7 separate regions of the Homo sapiens genome follow, and all the other regions are linked to region 4. The links are contacts of gene promoters, found by promoter capture Hi-C in blood cells and fetal thymus (Javierre and others, 2016). All regions are on one chromosome and are shown on one strand. The core of a region is centred on a gene start or on the middle of the fragment in contact, and the rest is flanking DNA. Distances in the headings are between cores, read along the strand shown.

Region 1 (2,700 bases), core at 188-2,687, 2.3 Mb after region 4:
CATATAGCAGCTTAGAACAAAATAAATCTAACAATAGTATAAATTATATTTGTGAGAGTACTTTAAAAATTATGATCTGATATAGCAAAAAAAATCATACCTTGATAACTATATGTTTACATTTTATCCAACTTCCAATATACTCATGAAAGCTGAGATATAAGCTCTGGTCTGTCTGAATCTAGGGTCTCTGCTCTCAGCCACTATACTCCTGCTTCCCAATCTATTCTCCAGATAGCAACCAGAATGTTACTTTAAAATCTGATTTAAACCATGTCACTCCTCTTCTTAAAATATTTTAATGGTTTTCCATTGCTTTTATAATAAAATCAAACTACTAATCATGGCCATTGGTGGTTCTGCCCACTTCTACTGTCTGATCTTCTACTACTTTACGCCTCACTCTGGGTTCTTTGCAACCCGAGGTTTCTTTATTCTTTCCTACTGTTTTTGAACTAATGGATGATCCTAGAAGTCAACACCTTCAGCGTTTTCCCAAGATCTTGGCATAGTTGCCTTATTATCTTTCAGATGTTAGTTTAAATGTCATCTCTTTGAAAATAGTGGCATCCATAAGCAACCTACCAGAAGCATCCCCTTAGTTCTATTTTGCTATCTCTATCTTAATAAAAAGCTTGAATCAGAATCTGTGGTTATGTTGGTGTTTAGTTTATACACATGTTGTCTGTGCCATCCCACCTCACTCGAATGTAAGCTCTGTGAGATTGTGGACTGCAAGACTGTCTTTGTGGAGCTTACATTTTAATAAGGGGAGACGGGCAAGAATCAGTTAAAAAATCATATAATATGTTAGAAGATGTTGACTGCTACAGGGAAAAAAAAAGATTTTCCACTTATTGATCATTTATTGTGTGTTAAGTACCTTGAGTTTTCCATATGGATTAAAAAAAATATATACTCACAGAAATGCTGTGAGTTAGGTACAACTATTTCCTAATTTAACGTAACCTAGGCTTCACACACAACTGGCATTAGGGTTAGAATTTGAGATCCAAGTAAGAAACCACATTCTGGATATACAAATACATATTCTTTATATGAATATTCCATAAGTTAGAGCAAGCTATTTGCTTCTGAATTGATTATTTTGGGAGCTGTTTGCTATCCAAATTATTTGCTTACTCATAAGCCTGAGTTCTTGTAATATAGAAAGTCAGATGAAAGGAAATACAAGCATAACTTCCTTTATTGTGCCTTACTTTATTGCACTTCACAGATAACTGCGTTTTTTACAAATTGAAAGTTTGTGGTAACCCTAATTCCAAGCAAGTCGGTTGATACCATTTTTCCAATGACACATGCTCACCTCATGTCTCTCTGTCACATTTAAATAATTCTTGCAATATTTCACATTTGCTCATTATTATGTCTGTTTTGTGATCTGTGATCTTTCTTGTTATTATTATAACTGTTTTAGGATACCACGAACCACACCTATACAGGCTGGCAAACTTGAATTTTTGTGTTGATAAATGTTGTGTAAGCTCTGACTGCTTCACCAACTGGCCAGTTTCTCTGTCCCTCTGTCCCTCACCTGGCCTCTATATTCCTGAAATGCAAAAATACTGAAATTAGGCCACTTAATAACTGTACAATGGCCTCTAAGTGTTCAAGTTAAAGGAAGACTCACATTTCTCACTTTAAATCAAAAGCTAGAAATGATGAGGCTTAGTGAGGAAGGTATGTCAACAGGCAAAACATGCCAAAAGATAGGCCTCCTGTGCCAAACAGCCACATTGTGAATGCAAAGGAAATGTTATTGAAGAAAATTTAAAATGCTACTCCAGTGAACACACAAGTGATAAGAAAGCAAAACTGCCTTACTTCTGATTATGGAGAAAGTTTCAGTGGTCTGGATAGAAGATCAAACCAGCCACAACATTCTCTTAAATCAAAGCCTAATCCTGAGGAAGACCCTAACAATATTCAATTTTCTGAAGGCCACGAGATGTGAGGAAACTGCAGAAGAAAAGTTGGAAGCTAGCAGAGGTTGGTTCATGAGGTTTAAGGAAAGAAGCCATCTCTATAACATAAAAGTGCAAGGTGAGGCAGCAAGTGCTGATGTAGAGGCTACAGTAATTCATCCAGAAGAACTAGCTAAGCTAATTAATGAAGGTGGTTGTGATAAATGGCAGAGTTTCAGTGTAGACAAAACAGCCTTCTATTAGAAGAAGAGGCCATCTAGAGAGGAGAAGTCAGTGCCTGGGTTAAAAGCTTCAAAGGACAGGCTGACTCTCTTGGTAGGACAATGCAGCTGGTGACTTAAAGTTGTAGCCAATGCTCATTGACCATTCCAAAAATTCTAAGGTCCTTAAGAATTATGCTATATCTACTCTGCCTGTGCTCTATAAATGGAACAGCAAAGTCTGGGTGACAGCACATTTGTTTACAATATGGTTTAGTGAATAAGCCTATTGTTTAGACACTGCTCAGAAACAAAAATTCCTTTCAAAATATTACAGTTCATTGACAATGTACCTTGTCACCCAAAACTTCTGATGGAGATGTACAAGCAGATTAATGTTGTTTTCATGGCTGTTAATACAGCATATATTCTTCAGCCCACGCTCAAGGGTTAATTTAAACTTTCAAGTCTTATTACTTAAGACATACATTTTATAAGGCTAGAGGTGCCATAGACAGTGATTTCTATGATGGATGTGGGCAAAGTAAACTGAA
Region 2 (2,700 bases), core at 121-2,620, 2.1 Mb after region 4:
AGTACATTGATTTGAAATATCACCTCTAAATTCCCAGGGACTTACAGCTATGTTTGCTTCTTTACTTTTTAATCTCTTCCATTGATCTGCCTGTTTACTCCGATGCTGTTACTCAAACACTATCACAGTTTCAATTGTCACACCTTAAAAATATGGCTTAAGGCCAGGCGCGGTGGCTCACGCCTGTAATCCCAGCACTTTGGGAGGCCGAGGCGGGCGGATCACGAGGTCAGGAGATGGAGAACATCTTGGCTAACGCGGTGAAACCCCGTCTCTACTAAAAATACAAAAAATTAGCCGGGCGTGGTGGTGGGCGCCTGTAGTCCCAGCTACTCGGGAGGCTGAGGCAGGAGAATGGCGTGAACCCGGGAGGCGGAGCTTGCAGTGAGCCAAGATCGCGCCACTGCACTCTAGCCTGGGCGACAGAGCGAGACTCTGCCTCAAAAAAAAAAAAAAAAAAAAAAAAAAGGTTTACTACACCACAGGCAAATTCCTACTTGTTTCTCTTTTTTTCTCAGAATGTTTCTGGATATTCCTACATTTAGTCTTCCAAATAAATGAGAGTTATGTTGTCATGTCAAATACAAAATGGATCTCTGTGTTATACTTACAAATAGTTTGCAGAAAATTTACATCTTTACAGTATCTGTCTTTCCAAAAAGACATGTCATGACTCTCCATTCATTCTATTAGTTTAGGCCCTTCATTTCGTTGGTTGGTTTGTGTTTTTTCCTTCATACAGGTTGTGTATATTTTTTGTTAAATTTATTCTTAGCATCCTTTGTATCGGGCCTGGACTTTGCAGAGGAAGATAAGATGCCCTGCTGTGTTGGTTTAAGCCTGAAACTCATCCCTCCTTCTAAGGCTTGGCTTATTTCTAAAAACACCATTCTCGAACTTTGATAGGCTTCCAATCAATTTTGTTCTTGCGAACTCCATGGTTTAAAATACAGAACCAGAAATCTTGAAATGAGAGGCTTCTCCCCGCATCGCTACATCCACCTTGTCACTGATTCTCAATAGCTGCAAACGTGACCCGAGAAAGCTTTAGTCGCTTAGCAACAAATGGGACTAGCTCCTCCCCTCCCCATTCTTCTAGAAAGAAAGGCTTAAGCCTCAAGGCCCTGAAGGGAAATATCAGTCAGAACTCACAGTAAAGGATCTTTCTTCCTTAATCTGCCTTTGCTTATTTCCAAAAGCCAGCGCTGCATTCCAAGCTTTGGTCACAGGATGGACTTAAAAAGGGATGTCTCCTCACGTGTGGGAGGGAGCTTGCATTGGTAACTGCCTCAGAGAGGCTCGAGTGCCAAGAATTCTCAGCTCCCCATCCTGCAGGATAACCTTATTCACTGTCAGGATCCCAACCTTATCCTTAGAAACATAGCTTAGTAGAAGACTCTACTGCTGTCATTGAGGGCTCTGAGGGCCGAAATCAGGGGCAGAGACGGCTTCCTCTGCACAGATACCTAACACCTTTGCAGATCCGGGTCTGTTTCCCACCAGGCAGCCCAGGGCAAGCTTGAGTTCCTGTGTTCCTTTTCCCGCTGTACTTCATTTAAGGCTACAAAGAGTTACTGATTCACACTTCCGTTCAGCTCATTTATTTAATTACCCAAATTAAAAAAAAATTTGATCCTCACCAGAGCCTTTTTCTGCCGGGACATAAAGCACAGCGTGACTGTCCTTGGTCAGGTGTCTGTCCTTGATCCAATCAGCTGTAGCCAGAGGTGGGGTAGAGTCAGAGGAAAAAGAATGTGGCCTTTATTCCTGTCTTTGGATACTATTACAAGGAGAGAATGTGACTAGGCAATAGTGATTAGCGTTTCTAGCATAATGTCCTTTGCTATTACCTTTTGAGTTGCATTATTTCAGCTCTCTTTTACATATCATATGGACGACTTTTGATGTCATTGGAGTTTTTGTCTATTAAATAAGTTGTTTAATCTCACTTTTATGTAGATTTAGTAATAGCGATATTTAATTTAATAACAAAGTAAATGTATTAAATGACTTAATTTAATAAAAGCAATCAGCATTTACAGAACTCTTGGTATGTGCCAGGTATTGCCATAATCCCTTGTTATATAAATAACATATTATCTTTTAATTCTTACATGCATGTTATTATCCCCATTTTATAGATGAGAAAACTGAGGCACAAACAGGTCAAGAAACTTGCTCGGTAGCACATACCAAGTAAGTAAACAGTGCACTAGGACTGGAACCTGGGCTAACTGCTTGCAGAGTGCAAGCTTTCCCCGCTCACCTTAGTTTCAGTCTTCTGTTATTTATGCTGTTTCTTCAACTTTTAATGTTTTGCCTCCTGTGGTCTCCTTGATACTGTTCCTGTCCACTTCAGACCTCCCCTCTTCAGATTAGGGTTCTCCCTTCCTTCATCTGAGGGAACTTGGTAACTACGAAAATGTCAGATCAGAGAAGCAAAGTGAGGAGGGGCAGAGTGCTCACTTTACATTCCAGAGATGCCAGCATGGCCTAGGAATGTTGTTGAACTCTGGTGGGAAAGAGGCTCAAGGCCCCGTCATTCCTCAGAGCCTGCCTGCAGCGCCAACCTTTGTCTCTCTAATATTAGGATTTCCCAGAATTTCCTCACTTTCCTATAAGTCTGTGCTACCCTGGAAAAAAAAAATGGTATATGGGTTCTAAATGCTGCCATATTTGGAAGAACTTCTTTAAGATTTG
Region 3 (2,743 bases), core at 23-2,522, 2.2 Mb after region 4:
GTATTTATGTATTTATATATGTATTGATTTATGTAGTACATATATATGTATGTGTGTATATATATGTATTTGTTGTAGTATTTAGTTGCTGTGCAATATTTCAATGAAATGATACACTTCAATTTGTTTATCCATTCTCTTGGCCAGTAGCTTTCAGTCTTCTTTTGACCCTGTAATCCATAGGGAGTAAAAATAGCTTTTACATGGTGAGCCAATTGATAGATAGATAGATATACCTCTGATACAAAAAGTTACCTTTTATTTATCTTTGTTGTGTGTGATAAACGTACTGTATTCGATTCTATTTTGTTTTTAGATGCTGGTTATGACTGACTAAATACACACAGCCTGCTAATGGGTTACAACCAGGCATTTGAAAAATACTGTTCTAGGGGGATAGTTTTCAAACTGCTATAACATTTCCAATACTCTGATATTCCTGCAGAACATAGTGGGAAGCTAGTGGGGGGTGACTCCAGCTTAGAATTTTTTCTGTCAATGAAAGATGGAATTAAATAGGAATATCTTTAGCATGTGGATCATTTAGGTACAGAAAACAAGTTTGAACCATGGTTTTAAGCAGTGAGGCTTATTATGAGGTAATTCTAAAAAAATGTGTGCAGATTTTTAAACAAATGATTCACATTTTGAATTCATGCTGCTAGCTTACTACTTTAAGAATTCCTATGGACAGTCTATTTGGAAACTGGAAAGAATATTTTTTAGAAAGTGAATAAAAATCCCCCGTTTTAATTTATTTGCCACGGTCATTGAAGAATATCCCTAACTCAGAGAAATGGCTTTACCTACATTTCCATAAAGTACATCAATAAGCTTTATGCCTTCATTGCATTACAGTAATATATTATTTGCAGACTAAAATACAAATGACCTCATTGACTTAAAGGTCTCCTGTGATGATGTTGTAATGAAGATTTCTGTGTTTAGTGAGTTGGGATCATTTCGTTTTAAAAAAGGAATCTTCAATTACAATTTGGTTACATGTTATACTGCTCTTTGAAGGTGCATTTTAGCCTATGGTTGTGACTAGAGACATAAGAATATTTTGCTTTTAGCAAGGGTGGTTAATTTCTGCTTCCTTTTTGGCATTGGCATCTGACTTGAGTACTCTAATCCTTTCGTCATCAGCTCTCAGTGTACAATGCTTGGCAAAATCTAGTGACTTCGATGAATAAACCAGTCTTCATATGATCCAGAGGCCTTAAGCTGCCTTGTTTTTTTACCCTGATTTTGAAGCAAGTAATGGAGTTGGCAGAGACAGAGCTGAATCTGCCAAAGCTCAGAATAAAGAACACTCAAAACATAAGTGCAAAAGAAAGCAAATAGTAGGAGGTTATCATCTCAATTAGGAGTCATTGTACGGCAGTGATCTGGAGGAACTTGGACTCTGGTAAACGTTTATAAAGTTTTCTTACCTGTATCTGTCAGTTTGCAGTACAATAACTGCTGCAATCACTTGCAACAATGCAAAGATATAAATAATAGTAGGCATATTTCACCTATGAAGGCTTGATTGTCCACTTGACTCCAGATGGAAAGAATGAGAAAGTTGACACAAAGATTGAAATGGAAGATGGGAGCTAAAGCTGAGGTTAACCCCTTTCTTCTGCACTTTCAATTACAACACTGCTTAGAACCTCCTTTCTCCTGAATCAATATCTCACTGCTCAATATGCTCTCAAAGCTTTTTCATTATGGCCCCTGGAACTCCTCTTTTAAGAAAAAAAAAACCAAAAACAAACAGGTAAATCCATCTATAGCCTCCTACCTCTTTAAAAAAAAACCATTGCCTAGGCTGGGTGCGGTGGCTCATGTCTGTAATCCCAGCACTTTGGGAGGCCGAGGAAGGTGGATCACTTGAGGTCAGGAGTTCAAGACCAGCCTGGCCAACATGGTGAAACCCTGTCACCACAAAAATTACAAAAATTAACTGGGATTACATGCCTGTAATCCCAGTTACTCAGGAGGCTAAGACAGGAGAATCGCTTGAACCCTGAAGGCGGAGGTTGCAGTGAGCCAAGATTGCGCCACTGCACTCCACCCTGGGTGGCAAAGTGAGACTCTGTCTCAAAAACAAAAACAACAAACATAAAAACAACATTGCCTAAATGAAAAAGGTCTTCTTTGAGGTCATTACTCCTTCTCATCTAGGATGAATATGTAATGTCACATAGAAACCAAGACACTTAAGAATAAAAGGGGGTACTATTAATAATGATGCCAGGACCACAGGTGTAAACTGAGACAGTTCTTGGCAAACCAGCTCATATGGTCAACTTACCCATAGTCCTCTCAAGTGAAGGCTTTTCATTTTCTACTGATTCACCTTGCTCAAGTTTAGACTAAGGAGTCAGCATCCCCTATGTAGTCCAAAGACATTTTCAGAACATATACACTTTCATGTAAAATCCCGGTTCCTCTGATGTTCATGCTTTCCAGCTACCACCTCACAATTCTTCCTCCTCGCTTTTATTTATCAGTTTTCCAGGGATTCATTCTTCATAGACTTTTGCACCTAGTTCAGTATTTCCCTCTCTTCCCCAAGAGCTACATCTCCCGATTATCCTTTCATGTTTCTGATATTCCACCCCCTAGAGGCCATGACTTCTCAACCTCCATTCCGGATTCTGGCACCTTGTTCTCCATCAGAAATTTCTGTTCACAATCTTCTATACCTTCCTATCTCTCACTATTCCCTCTTATGCAAATTATTTAACCTCAC
Region 4 (2,700 bases), core at 119-2,618:
TCATTTCTAAGTCCCTTCTTTCCATGGCCTAGTCAGCTAATGAAGGGCTTGTGAACGTGGGAATGAATGATTTGCACCTTCATATGGTTACCAGAGATTCTAAGGGAAGGCAGGTAAATTGGAATCTTCATGATGTCGAGTTTTATTAAATCACCAGTCAAAGTAACTGAAGTTTTCCTTGCATAACAAGTGGCCCACCTAAGTTAATCTGTTTAAGGAAGGGGCTAAGACTAGTGTCCTAAAATCAGGAACAGCACGGGTTCCAATCCTACTTTTCCCTTACTCAACTGTTTAAACTTGTGCAGAAGATGCTAAATCTGTCCAGTGTGTTGTCCAGGGTCTTTCTCTGTCACCCAGGATGGAGTGCAGTAGTGCCATCTCGGCTCACCACAACCTCCGCCTCCTAGGTTCAAGCGATTCTCCTGCCTCAGCCTTCCCAGTAGCTGGGATTACAGGCGTGTGCCACCATACCGGCTAATTTTTGTATTTTTAGTAGAGACGGGTTTCACCATGTTGGCCAGGCTGGTCTCGAACTCTTGACCGTAAGTGATCAGCCCACCTCGGCCTCCCAAAGTGCTGGGATTACATGCGTGAGCCACCTAGCCCAGCCGTCCAGGGTCTTAAAAGTTGCTAAATCTCTCTGAGCCTCACTTTTTTTCCCCATAAAGTGGGGAAGTATTACACCAACCTCACAGCGCTACTGGGAGGAGTAAATAAGGCGTTTTGCTGCTGGTGCCTGGAATACAATACTTCCTGGTTAATGTGATCACACTCCTTTCTGATGGAACTAGCTATGCCTTACCTGACTGCCAGACCAGCATCCCTGAGAGCTTTTGCAGTCCCTCCGGAAGCGACCAGATTCAAACCAAGAGCGGTCAGGTTTCTTGCAAATTCCACAAGGCCGGTTTTGTCAGAGACACTAAATAAGGCTGAAAGAGAAGACATTTTTTCTCATGATTCGCAGCACATTGCACTGTGTTCTGCAAGGCCTTGGGAGGGTCTGGGGGAGGAGATTCTCGAATCGCAAGGCCAGCACCTGGACCCTGCGTTCGCAGGCCTGGTCCGGGCCTCCCCAGGTCTTACACCCGCGAGCTGCTCTAAGGCGGGCCCCACGCAGGCTGCGGCCCGGCCGGGGAGCGGGGACGCTGGCTTTCAATCCCGCAGCGCCGCCCCTGCAGTGCCGGGTCCCGCCGGCCGCCGCCAAGGCGGGAGCGTGGGGGGCCGCAGGCGAGGACGCAGACCGCGCCGCTCCGCTAGGGCCTCACCGAGCTGGCCGGGAGCCATGGCTGCAGGCACTGGGTTCAGGGCGAGCGGGAGGCAGCAGCGGCGGCACCACGTGCGCAGGTAGGAGGGCTGCCGGGATGTGGCGGCTCAGGAAGCGAGGGGGCGGAGCTGTTTCCGGGCTTATCACGTGGCCCGCCGGCCCTGCCCGGCGCCCTGCTCTGCTCAGTTTCAGATGCAAGATCCGCGCCCCGGGGCTGAAGGGAACGGCGGGATGGGGTGGGGCTCTGCCTGGCGCGCCTGGGCGGAGTGCTTGGGCTGGAAGGGATCCTGCCTGCGATCCCGAAGTCCAGGCGTGGGAGCCAGCGATCTGCCCACGACCCCAAAGTGAGGCCACTCCACGGCCTCTGGGGCAAATGCCTGTTATTCTAGGCAGCCGGTCCCCAGAAGCTGGAAAGTACGTAAAAGTGCCAGAAGCTCCCATGCTGAAAACTAAACAAAAGGAATAGTTCATATAGCGGCAAAGCTGGAAAGTATCTGGACAGTTATCTACCATCCTCCCTTTTTGTTTGTTGTTTTTTTGTTTTTCTGGGTTTTTTTGTTTTTTTTGTTTTTTTTTTTTTTTTTTGAGATGGAGTTTCGCTTTTGTTGCCCAGGCTGGAGTGCAATGGCGCGATCTCGGCTATGTCACGTGCAACCTGCAACCTCCACATCCCGGGTTCAAGAGTTTATCCTGCCTCAGCCTCCCGAGTAGCTGGAATTATAGGCAGGCGCCACGATGCCCGGCTAATTTTTGTATTTTTAGTAGACATGGGGTTTCGCCATGTTGGCCAAGCTGGTCTCAAACTCCTGACCTCAGGTGATCCGCCTGCCTCGGCTTCCCAAAGTGCTGGGATTACAGGGGTGAGCCACCATGCCCAACTTGTTTTTTGTTTGTTTGCTTGCTTGCTTGTTTGCTTGTTTGTTTTGAGACAGGGTCTCGCTCTGTCTCCCAGACTGGAGAGCAGTGGCACCATCTCAGCTCACTGCAACCTCTGCCTCCCAGGTTCAAGAAATTCTCCTGCCTCTGCCTCCACACCCGTCTAATTTTTTGTTGTTGTTGTACTTTTTTTTTTTTTTTTTTGTATATTTAGTAGAGATGGGGTTTCACGGTGTTGGCCAGGCCGGTCTTCAACTCCTGACCTCAAATGATCTGTCCACCTCAGCCTCCCAAAGTGCTGGGATTACAGGTGTGAGCCACCGTGCCCGGCCCCATCCTCCTTTTTAATAGGCTTAAAAAATAAAACCAAGGACCAATGATTTAAGTGAGGGACTCCAGAGGCCACAGATGACAGTCAAAACGAAGTGAAATTGACATTCGTTGTTGATTTTCACGTCATAAAATTATAATTTAAATATTAATTTATAATACTATTTTATACAATTTAGTCAGTATTGTAAAAGTGCCTAAAAACTACTTAAAGATGGTGTCTTCTTGCA
Region 5 (2,802 bases), core at 123-2,622, 2.3 Mb after region 4:
GCTAGAGTTCATCATTAACATACGTCTCATATAAATAGCTTGGCATATGTCTCTTTTTAAACAGAACCATGATGAAACTTATATCTATTCCCTTCTCTTGCTGTATGTTATTTATTTGTTTTCCTTTTTTGTGGTAGATATGAGAGTTGCTGTCATTTTGGTTGCCATTAGCTCCATGAAATGATTTAACTATTACTTGTTTTTAAAAAATATCTGACATAGTTATATTTCCTAGTCTTTCTTTTCTAAAACATGTTTTTCCCTGTGTTGTTCTTCTAGTATGGAATTTTTTAAAGGAAAAGAGGCATTTTCACTTTACTCAGAAAACATTTATCAAGAGCTTACTATGTGCCAAGTTATATAGAACATTCTGGGGTATAAAAATAAATGGACCCAGTCTTTTAATACACTTACTTTATAGTCTGGTAGGAAATACATACTTTAAAAAAATAAAATAAAATGAAACAAAAGCTCTAATAAGGATGCATACACAGTTCTCTGGGAACATAGATGTAGAATTAACCTAACTCTGGAAAAGTCAAGAGAGGCTTCTTACATGCAGGAGTGTTCAATCCAAACATGAGGGATGAGTAAAAATTGCATATATCAGGCAGGATACAGAGAATGTATATTCAAGGAGAAAAAGAGGCTTGGAGATATAAAAGATAATTAACAGCTTCCCTGATGTTGAGTGTAACTGCAGTTTAAGGAGTGGTAGGAAATGAAGCTTCTGAATTAGTAGGTTGTGATGCAAAGACAGAGTCTTCTCTGCTAAGCTAGTGTTTGAATTTCATTGTGTAACTGATGGGGGGCCACTAGGGTAACCAAATTTGTTATTAATGAGGTAATCAAATCAAGAAAAATGTCTCCAATGAGGATACATGATAAATGCCTACCTGGGGCAGGGGGTATGGTGTGAGGAGAGACTGGAAATGACAATGCCAAAAAGAAAAAGATGAAGAGGCAACTGCAGAAGAGAACAAGGTGAAATATTGAAGACATATTTAGGAGGTAGAATAAAATGGTCTTAGAAAAGTTGATTGAGTTTGAGGAAAAAGGAGGAATATCATGACTCATAGTTTTGGAAATAATAATTGAGTTTTATGACAGATTATTTATATAATTAAATTATTTAATTGGGTTTGATGAGCTTATTTATTTTATTGGGTTTTAGGGCAGATTATTTATCTTATTTAATTAGGTTTTATGGCAGATTATCTTGTTCAATATTATCTTTATGTTGCTTTTTCAAGTCTGCTTAGCTTGAAGGAAAAGCTTTAAAATCAAACTATGTTATTACCTGTTTTACCTAAACCTAAAGACAAAAATGAAAGTGCAAAGCAGAAGGATAGCCAGCTTAAAATCTATATATATTGTTAGGTTTATGCTTTGAATTGTTTAGGAAAGGGAGGTTCTTTTTCACAGTATAGAGGCATTATTGGGCACCCCCAAACTTTGGAATAAGCTTTTTTGACTTATTTCTATTGGGTGACATCATTCAGTGAACATCCATTGAATATTATATCTCTCTTGTATCATAAAAGGTATTAGAGACACAAATACAACAGAATGCAACCCCTGAGGTTATTTACCAGCTATTGGAAGATAGACCAGTAAAACAACAATTATAGTACTATGTGATAAGCATTATGGAGACAGAGAGGACATACCTAAATCAGCAGAACATCCAAGAGGAATTTCCCGGGATTGAGCTTAGTTTTAAAAAGCAAAAATGTGAACTAATAAATGGAGAAGGGTGTTTCCTGCAGAAAGAACAACATATGTGAACAACTACCAATGTAGCATCTAAAACACTTGGGGTACCTCCATGTGTGTTTGTAAAGAGATGTGGTAGGGAGGAGGAGAGGCAGAAGACTGGATGAAAGGAAGAAATCTAGGATTTTCCACAGGTGACCAGCATGGCTGATGGAGTAAATAGTAGTGTCATTCAGTGATATGGTAATTAGTAGTGTCATTCAGTGATATGGTAATTAGGAAAATAGAAGAAAGAAAGGTAAATGGAGATTTTACTTCTTTTACTATATTCTTTTATGTCTCCATGAAATAGGCAAATAAAACTGTCTAGGAAGATGTTAAATATATAGATCTCAAGCTCTTGAGAGGGGTCTGAGTAGGAAACAAAGATGCAGGATCCATCATAATTTATGTAGTGGCCCAACGTAGTAGTTTTTAATAAGGCAATACGGATAAGTACAGAGTGAGACATCAAGAAGGCCAAGAACACACTAGCAGGAAAAAAATTTCATGAAGATGAGTAAGAGCAGAGTAGGAACATGGAAAGAGTGATTTCACAGAAGCCAAAGCAAGTGTCAGCACTGCCAAATGCTGTCAAGAAAATAACTAAGATAACTGTAAAGTTTTTTTTTTAGATCGGGTAACACGGAGAAAATTTGCAACAATATAGAAGACATCTGTTGTTTTTGCCTGCCTGACATCCCTTCCTCCTTCTCTTGATAACAAGAGTGCCCATTTACCTTTAGAGAACTTTCCTGTTGCATGTAGCTGTGGTGGGACCCTCAGTCCAGGTACTCTGCCCTCTCCTGCTCAGGAGCTAGACATGTGATCTAACCTAGGTCCCTCAGACTTGGAATTTGAATTTGGGTGAACTGTTTGGTTTTTCAAAAGAATACATTGGGAATACACTTATGGTTTTGCCGTTATGGTTATCAACGTGATGAAACAGTGATCTAATGGAATTATGTTTTTATCTTGGTTATAACCTCAAATATAAGGTCAAAGAGGATGTTTGGTTATAAAGTTTGTTCAAACAGGGGAAGTTAC
Region 6 (3,084 bases), core at 214-2,713, 2.2 Mb after region 4:
TAAATGGAATTTCTATAAAAAGAGTTTTCTATTTTTTTTTCTAGTGGAAAACTAGGTGATGGTGCATATGACTTTATCCCTAGGAAAAGCATTAGTTTTGTAATGGGGTTTCATGAAGTTTACTTCCGTTCACTTTTTTCCCTGCCTGTTTAAAAAAAATCCTGTTTAGTTTACATGATGTGTAGGAAAGCGTTGGGAAAACATTATTTGTTTTTTTACAATCAGTGATTTAAAAACATAGTCATTAGTGTGTCTGTGTGTTTTAAATTTGTATATGAATTTCTGTGATGCCTTATCTGCTCTGCTCTTTGCTATGTGCCATTAACCTAAATTTGGTAGAGTGTGGTGGTGGTGTATTCTTAGTATTTGCTTATGATTATTTTATGAGTTCTTTGATAATATTATTCCCAGGCAGAGAAAAATCAAAAATCTTCTTTCCATATTCTTTAGTTTGAATGTCAGTGCTTGTATAATATCAAGATAGAGGTCACATGAAAATATTTTATCTTCATTTCTCACCCAAACGAGGATGGTTAAAATACACTGGGTGTGTTTAACATAAACTACTTAATGGTTATTGTGTCAGTATATATCAATTAATGAAAAATTAATCAAATGTTTCCTTTGAGGATTCTAGTTTTGTTAAAAGAAAACTTCTGTGTGACCTCAGAAAATTAATACTTGTATTCAGATTCTCAAATGAGAGTTGATAAATAATATTTATTTAGGTGACATTTGGAGCAAACTGTCACTTTAAAAAATAAACTTCTACTAATGACATTATGACAACATCCACATTGGGGGAACTCAAATATAGGATAAGATATATATTTTTTCTACTGAGTATAACTTGAAAGTACTTGGAATTTGTATTTATTTCTTGGTTCATTTTAAATATTATGGCAAAAACCACAGTTACTTTGGCATCAACCTAATATTTCAGCTGATACCCTAATTTGAAGTATTGCAATGGCCAGTTTGCTAATGAACATAAACACATACAGCATGTGCCAATAGATTGTTTCTCTAAAGCAGCGATTAGCTTTTAGAAAACTTTTCCCAGTGAGATTTACTATTTCATATTTAATGTTAATAAATGGGAATGGGACATGTGTTGAAATAACGATAAGGCCATATTAAGCCAGCAGAACAGAACAAAACTTTAACTGAATGAAATAAGGTAGTATAGACTTCAGCATTTCTCTTTTATTGAGACTGTCTCAGTATCTGTATAGTGTATAGCCAAGGAACAGTTTGAAAGCCACTTTAGAATTGTCTTCTAGAAAAGTACACACATAGTTGAAATCTGAAATAACTGGAAGTTAGTTTTAAGAAAACAAACCGCCTTTTCAGGATCCATGCTTGTCTGTCTAGCCTGAATAATTTAGGCTTACGTTTAATAACCATTTAAATACAATTGTAATAAATTCATCATCATATTAATAAGGTTTGATGAATCAAATTTTTATAGAATGTTTAAGAGAAGGTTTTTTCCTAAATGAAATAATTGCAGAAAATTTGGCATTCTATTACTGTAGCAAAACTTGGCAAAGACCAAAGTACAGAACAGAATCTAGATTCTTAGTGAAATTTGAATCACAGCTTCTATGTGGTAATGCAATGTCAGTCTTCTAAAAAATATGTATGTAAGCAAAATCCATTGATTGGATTTAAGAGTTTTGTTAGGCTTTTGTTATTCTAACTAATGTTCCATCTGGATTTTAATATTTGACATAAATATGTACAGTCATGTGCATGCCTGATAACTTTTCAATGATAGACCACATATACAACATATACAGCGGTGATGCCATAATATTATAAATAGGGTATTTTTAAGATACATTTTCTGTGTATATGTAGATACCATTGGGTTACAATTGCCTACGTATTCAGTACAGTAACATGCTGTGCAGGTTTGTAGCTTAGGAACAACAGGCAATATATACCATACGGCCTAGGTATGAAGTAGGCTATCCTATCTAGATTTGTGATGTACACTTGATAGTGTTCACAGCTAAGGACACATTTCTCAGAGCACATTCCTGTAGTTAGGTGATAGTTGATTTTATGTAATAGTTATAAACATGTCAGAATAATATATTTTCCTTGACTTAGTTTTATATGGGGTTAAAAAGTAAAGGGCAAAATACTGCTACTCTGTTCATGTTTTTAGTTAGAGATGGATGTGTCTCTTCAAAGTTTTTTCTTTTCAATCTTTTTCATTTGTATGATATTTAAATCAGTGCTCTGGATATTTGCAACAAAATAATGAATATTGTCACTTTCTCAGTTTGAGAGGATAGTAAAATACATTCAAGGGACCAGGGAAATATGATTATAGGAGCTGGGTCAAATAGGTACAAGTTTCTGGATCCCAGGGATTGTGAAATGGAAATTTATCTTTTTCTACTTCTGGATGTTACTTTAGAGATAATTCTTCACATCATTCTGAATTTTTAAAATTTAGGTTATTTAGAGATGTGGAGGTTGCAGTGAGCCAAGATCGTGCCACTGCACTCCAGACCTGGCGACAGAGCAAGACTCCATCTCAAAGAAAACAAAAATTATGTTATTCATAAGTTTTTATGGACTTCTGATTCGTTGGAAGTTAACATGGCTTTCACTTCCCTGATTTTCATTTAATTTGTTTAATATATGCTTTACATTTTGGAAAGGTGAAGTGTACATTGATTTTTCTGTTGTTTTTCTTGTAGTGTTACCTCTTTCAAAGGTGTAACATGCTATTAAACATTTGAATAACTGTCATACTCTAAAACCTTTTTATATTTATGAAACATAGATCATGTCAATAATGGATTACTATCATTTGTTTAATATTTTCCTGGCAGTGTTTTCTGTTTAATTTTTGTATACTTCTTCTGTGGTAAATATGGAGTTAGTTTATTTCTGGTTACTTATTGGGAAACTGAGACACTAACATTTACCTCCACTCTTACTCACTGAACTCCATCACTAACCAGCAGTAGAACCTAGGAATCTTACTTCTAGTTCAGTGATTGGTTTATTGTATCTCAGTTTCTAGTACCAGATTAACTATATTAGCTCCTCGTATTAACTTTT
Region 7 (2,961 bases), core at 408-2,907, 2.2 Mb after region 4:
TGTTAGTACAGGTTTTGGCTAAGATGCACGTGTTTTCAGGTTCTTTTCCAAAGAGTTGCAGGTTAAATATTTTGGCTCTCACTTCAGAGCTGTCTCTTGCATCCTTTATGTAGCCTCTATTTACAGTATCTAGGTTACCCACTTAGGTGTTAGATGGAGAAGATACCCATTTTTCCTCTCTGTTAGATCTAGGAGAATATCAGCATTTTAGATTGCCAAAGCAAATAGTGATAGAGAGGAACTCTCGTCTATTAATTAGAACAAGAGACCTAGAATTGGTCACTCTGATGTTTTTCTGTGACTTGGAATAATTTTTTGTGTGCATCTGGCCTGTCAAATCACTTGTGTCTGAGATCACCGGTTTTCCTAAATCCCTTTACATGCATTGTTGACTTTGTTTAATGAAAAGAACTTATTTATTTTCTGCATTTTTTAATATCTTCAAATATACTTCCTGGAGGGTGCCTGCTTCCAAAAACAGAATTGCAATTTTGATTGAAAGTGTTAAAGCTAAAAGTAAATGTGAAAACCTTTAAGACAGTTTCTAGTAGCAGGAAGGAGAGGATGGGAATATATGTGTAAGGAGGAAAAAAGTTATTTTTAAACAGTTAAAAAAATAAAATAAGTAAATTTTTTTTTTTTTTTTAGTAAAACAGCTAACATTCTGGCCAGAAAAGTATCAATAAGGCATGAGAGCTCACTTATTTTGGCTTTAGGAAGGTGGTCAGTACTACTGTAAGGTCCCAGCATTTGTTTAAGCTATTTGGTAACTCTTCTAAGATGAAGGGTTTCTGTGCAACTTGCTGCCAGCTATTGTATAAAAATAATGACGGCAGCTATCATTATTTGACAGTGCTAGAATAGAGCACTGGTGACTTGGGAGGGAGAGAACTAAAAATGTTATAATGCCTGACAGTTTTTGGTTTTAAAATTTAGCATCTAAGATAAACTTAAGAAGAAGTAAGAGGTATTAGTGATCCTAACATTTTATAATGACTACTTCCTATGGTTTTGAATGAATTTTCTTAGAGAACTTTAAACTTTTTCTTCTGGAATGAGGATGTCTTTGTTAAGAAGATGGACATTGTTGCCTGAGATCATTAGTGTACATATTGAGTCTGCTGACAATCTTCGGTGTCAGGGATGACAGTATATGCCTTGATGGCTATTGGAAATACACAGTGTTAAGTGATTTTTAAAAATAGAATCTGGGACTTAAGAATCTGAGACAGACATCTCAGACAGAACAATATAAAAATAATCCATATTGTATTTCGGCCCATCAGATGAAACTTACTTTGTGATTCCTTCTGTTTCTTGGTTAGCTCATTTCCAATTCTTGCATAGTTGTTCAGTATTGGTTTCAGACTGTTCTATACTGGCAGGTGACTATTTTGAAAATTGTTTAAAGTTCAAAATTTTTAAATTAATTTTATTTTTCTTATCTATTTTTTTATAATGTTTATGTATAAATTTACTTTGCAGGTAGTTACTTAAATGGGTATGAAAATACATCATGATGCAAAATTTGTTTCTATTACTTTAAAGCTGTTAAGTGGATCAACTGTACAGTCAATGCTATTTATCAGTCTGATGGCCAGGTGGCATGTATGGAATCGGAAGAAGTAGTAAGTCTAGTTTTACAAGGCTCTGACCAATAATCAGGTCAGGGAATCTAGTTTATTCTTTTCAGAGTACTTCACATTAATTTTTTTCTTAGCTAGTTTCCATTTTTAGAACCTAGCGAAGCAGAAGTATATTATGATTTCTATTTTTCATATGTGGAAATTGAGGCTTGAAGAAATCAATTTACCTCTTAGAGAACTTAGCAGAAAGATGAAGTTATCAGGATTGGGACATAAAATTGTGATATTACCTTGTGGGTTAGTTAGATAACTGCTATCTCTACAATGTCACCTTCTCAGGGTGTCTGCCGTGTCCAATACTGGCCCATATTTTTGTGACAAATATCTCAGAAATAGAAGAGTTATTATGAGGGTGGAGTGATATCAGATTATCTTTTCAGGCGGGTGTTCTAATGCACTTTTTGAAATAGAGCCTATATTATGGGACTTACCAGCTTTCTGAGTTTTCTTCTGTAGCTTAGTTTGGCAGTCACCCTTGCTTGGATTTCTGTAGGACACACCCTAATATAACACCAGATGGGCTTGATAGAAAATCTTCTGTTTTAAGTCGCCATACTTAGGTTTGTGTATATACCCAATGTACTTTACATTTAGTTCTTGTTTATTAGGGAATTAAATAAAAATAGTTCTGATTTAATTTCTTTACAGGTATCAGAGATAAATGTCATAACTATGTACCAAAAGAGAAAAAAAGGGAAAAAAAAGGAAAGTAAAAGAGGTATAGATTTGTTGGTAATCAACAGCAAAAGTGCTGTAACTTTTTCTTTGCACCTCATTCCGCTCCCAACTCCCTATCTTTTTAGTCTGCTTAGTACTGAGAATTAAAGTCCGTTTTCAAAAAACAAAACAACGTATGGCAGAAAGATTATCCTTATCATCTCTATCTTTGTTCAAAATCTGTCTTTCCCACTAGAAGTACTTTTTTAAAAAAAGGTAACACCATTGATTGTGTTCTATTGAGAGTCTTCCTGTAAGCCATAATGAATTTTCATCTCTGGGTTCCGTGCTCTTCTCTCCTAACTTTTGACATGTTGATATATTTTGAATATTTACATATTTTTATCATATTTGGAAATATCAATAGCAGAGTTCCAGTCCTAAAATGAGGTAGAATATGTTGTTTTTCTTTACTTTTTTCCCTTCTTATCTGTTTATGTTAAATGTATTTGTTGGCCTGTTGGTATTTTCCTTTTGCGAATTAATTGAGACCCAATATACCTCTGTTTTGATATAGGTAAGGAATATTTAGGGATGGTTTCCTTTATTATAAATGTTATAATCACCACTAGAGCGAGAGAAGGTAGAGGGGCATCCT

The links. Contacts are between HindIII fragments. The CHiCAGO score rates a contact against its expected background, and 5 or more counts as called.
Region 1: a contact is called between a fragment that was not itself captured here and the fragment with the promoter of ATIC in region 4, in 1 of 17 cell types (total B cells). The highest score is 6.0, in total B cells.
Region 2: a contact is called between a fragment that was not itself captured here and the fragment with the promoter of ATIC in region 4, in 1 of 17 cell types (fetal thymus). The highest score is 7.6, in fetal thymus.
Region 3: a fragment that was not itself captured here is called in contact with the fragment with the promoter of ATIC in region 4 in 2 of 17 cell types (fetal thymus and total B cells); the score reaches 10.3 in fetal thymus.
Region 5: a contact is called between a fragment that was not itself captured here and the fragment with the promoter of ATIC in region 4, in 2 of 17 cell types (total B cells and naive B cells). The highest score is 6.7, in total B cells.
Region 6: a fragment that was not itself captured here is called in contact with the fragment with the promoter of ATIC in region 4 in 1 of 17 cell types (fetal thymus); the score reaches 6.0 in fetal thymus.
Region 7: a contact is called between a fragment that was not itself captured here and the fragment with the promoter of ATIC in region 4, in 2 of 17 cell types (total B cells and fetal thymus). The highest score is 10.1, in total B cells.

Annotation. Positions count from the first base shown.
Region 1 is chr2:213,033,398-213,036,097 of GRCh38, reverse strand. All of the region lies in intron 6 of IKZF2 (IKAROS family zinc finger 2), which reads left to right. Among named protein-coding and RNA genes, the nearest start is that of MIR4776-2, 110 kb to the right of the region's middle. The HindIII fragment of the contact is 1,601 bases long and covers 637-2,237 here.
Region 2 is chr2:213,188,157-213,190,856 of GRCh38, reverse strand. It overlaps LOC107985981 (a long non-coding RNA gene), which reads right to left and starts at 2,418. Exons shown (of 5, transcript XR_007088069.1): 1 at 2,267-2,418; 2 at 1,641-1,715. RefSeq lists enhancers at 1-681, 1,544-2,404, 2,405-2,700. The HindIII fragment of the contact is 301 bases long and covers 1,220-1,520 here.
Region 3 is chr2:213,160,538-213,163,280 of GRCh38, reverse strand. The region is part of intron 1 of LINC01953 (long intergenic non-protein coding RNA 1953); the gene reads left to right. Among named protein-coding and RNA genes, the nearest start is that of LINC01953, 5.8 kb to the left of the region's middle. The HindIII fragment of the contact is 871 bases long and covers 837-1,707 here.
Region 4 is chr2:215,310,727-215,313,426 of GRCh38, reverse strand. It overlaps ATIC (5-aminoimidazole-4-carboxamide ribonucleotide formyltransferase/IMP cyclohydrolase), which reads right to left and starts at 1,368. Exons shown (of 16, transcript NM_004044.7): 1 at 1,266-1,368; 2 at 803-929. The coding sequence starts at 1,284. It overlaps LOC124907975 (a long non-coding RNA gene), which reads left to right and starts at 1,455. Exons shown (of 2, transcript XR_007088075.1): 1 at 1,455-2,700. RefSeq lists silencers at 1,024-1,393, 1,404-1,483 and an enhancer at 1,014-1,664. The HindIII fragment of the contact is 8,450 bases long and covers 1-2,700 here.
Region 5 is chr2:213,016,633-213,019,434 of GRCh38, reverse strand. All of the region lies in intron 7 of IKZF2 (IKAROS family zinc finger 2), which reads left to right. Among named protein-coding and RNA genes, the nearest start is that of MIR4776-2, 92 kb to the right of the region's middle. The HindIII fragment of the contact is 190 bases long and covers 1,278-1,467 here.
Region 6 is chr2:213,073,197-213,076,280 of GRCh38, reverse strand. All of the region lies in intron 4 of IKZF2 (IKAROS family zinc finger 2), which reads left to right. Among named protein-coding and RNA genes, the nearest start is that of IKZF2, 77 kb to the left of the region's middle. The HindIII fragment of the contact is 3,798 bases long and covers 1-3,084 here.
Region 7 is chr2:213,142,858-213,145,818 of GRCh38, reverse strand. The region is part of intron 4 of IKZF2 (IKAROS family zinc finger 2); the gene reads left to right. Among named protein-coding and RNA genes, the nearest start is that of IKZF2, 7.3 kb to the left of the region's middle. The HindIII fragment of the contact is 4,908 bases long and covers 1-2,961 here.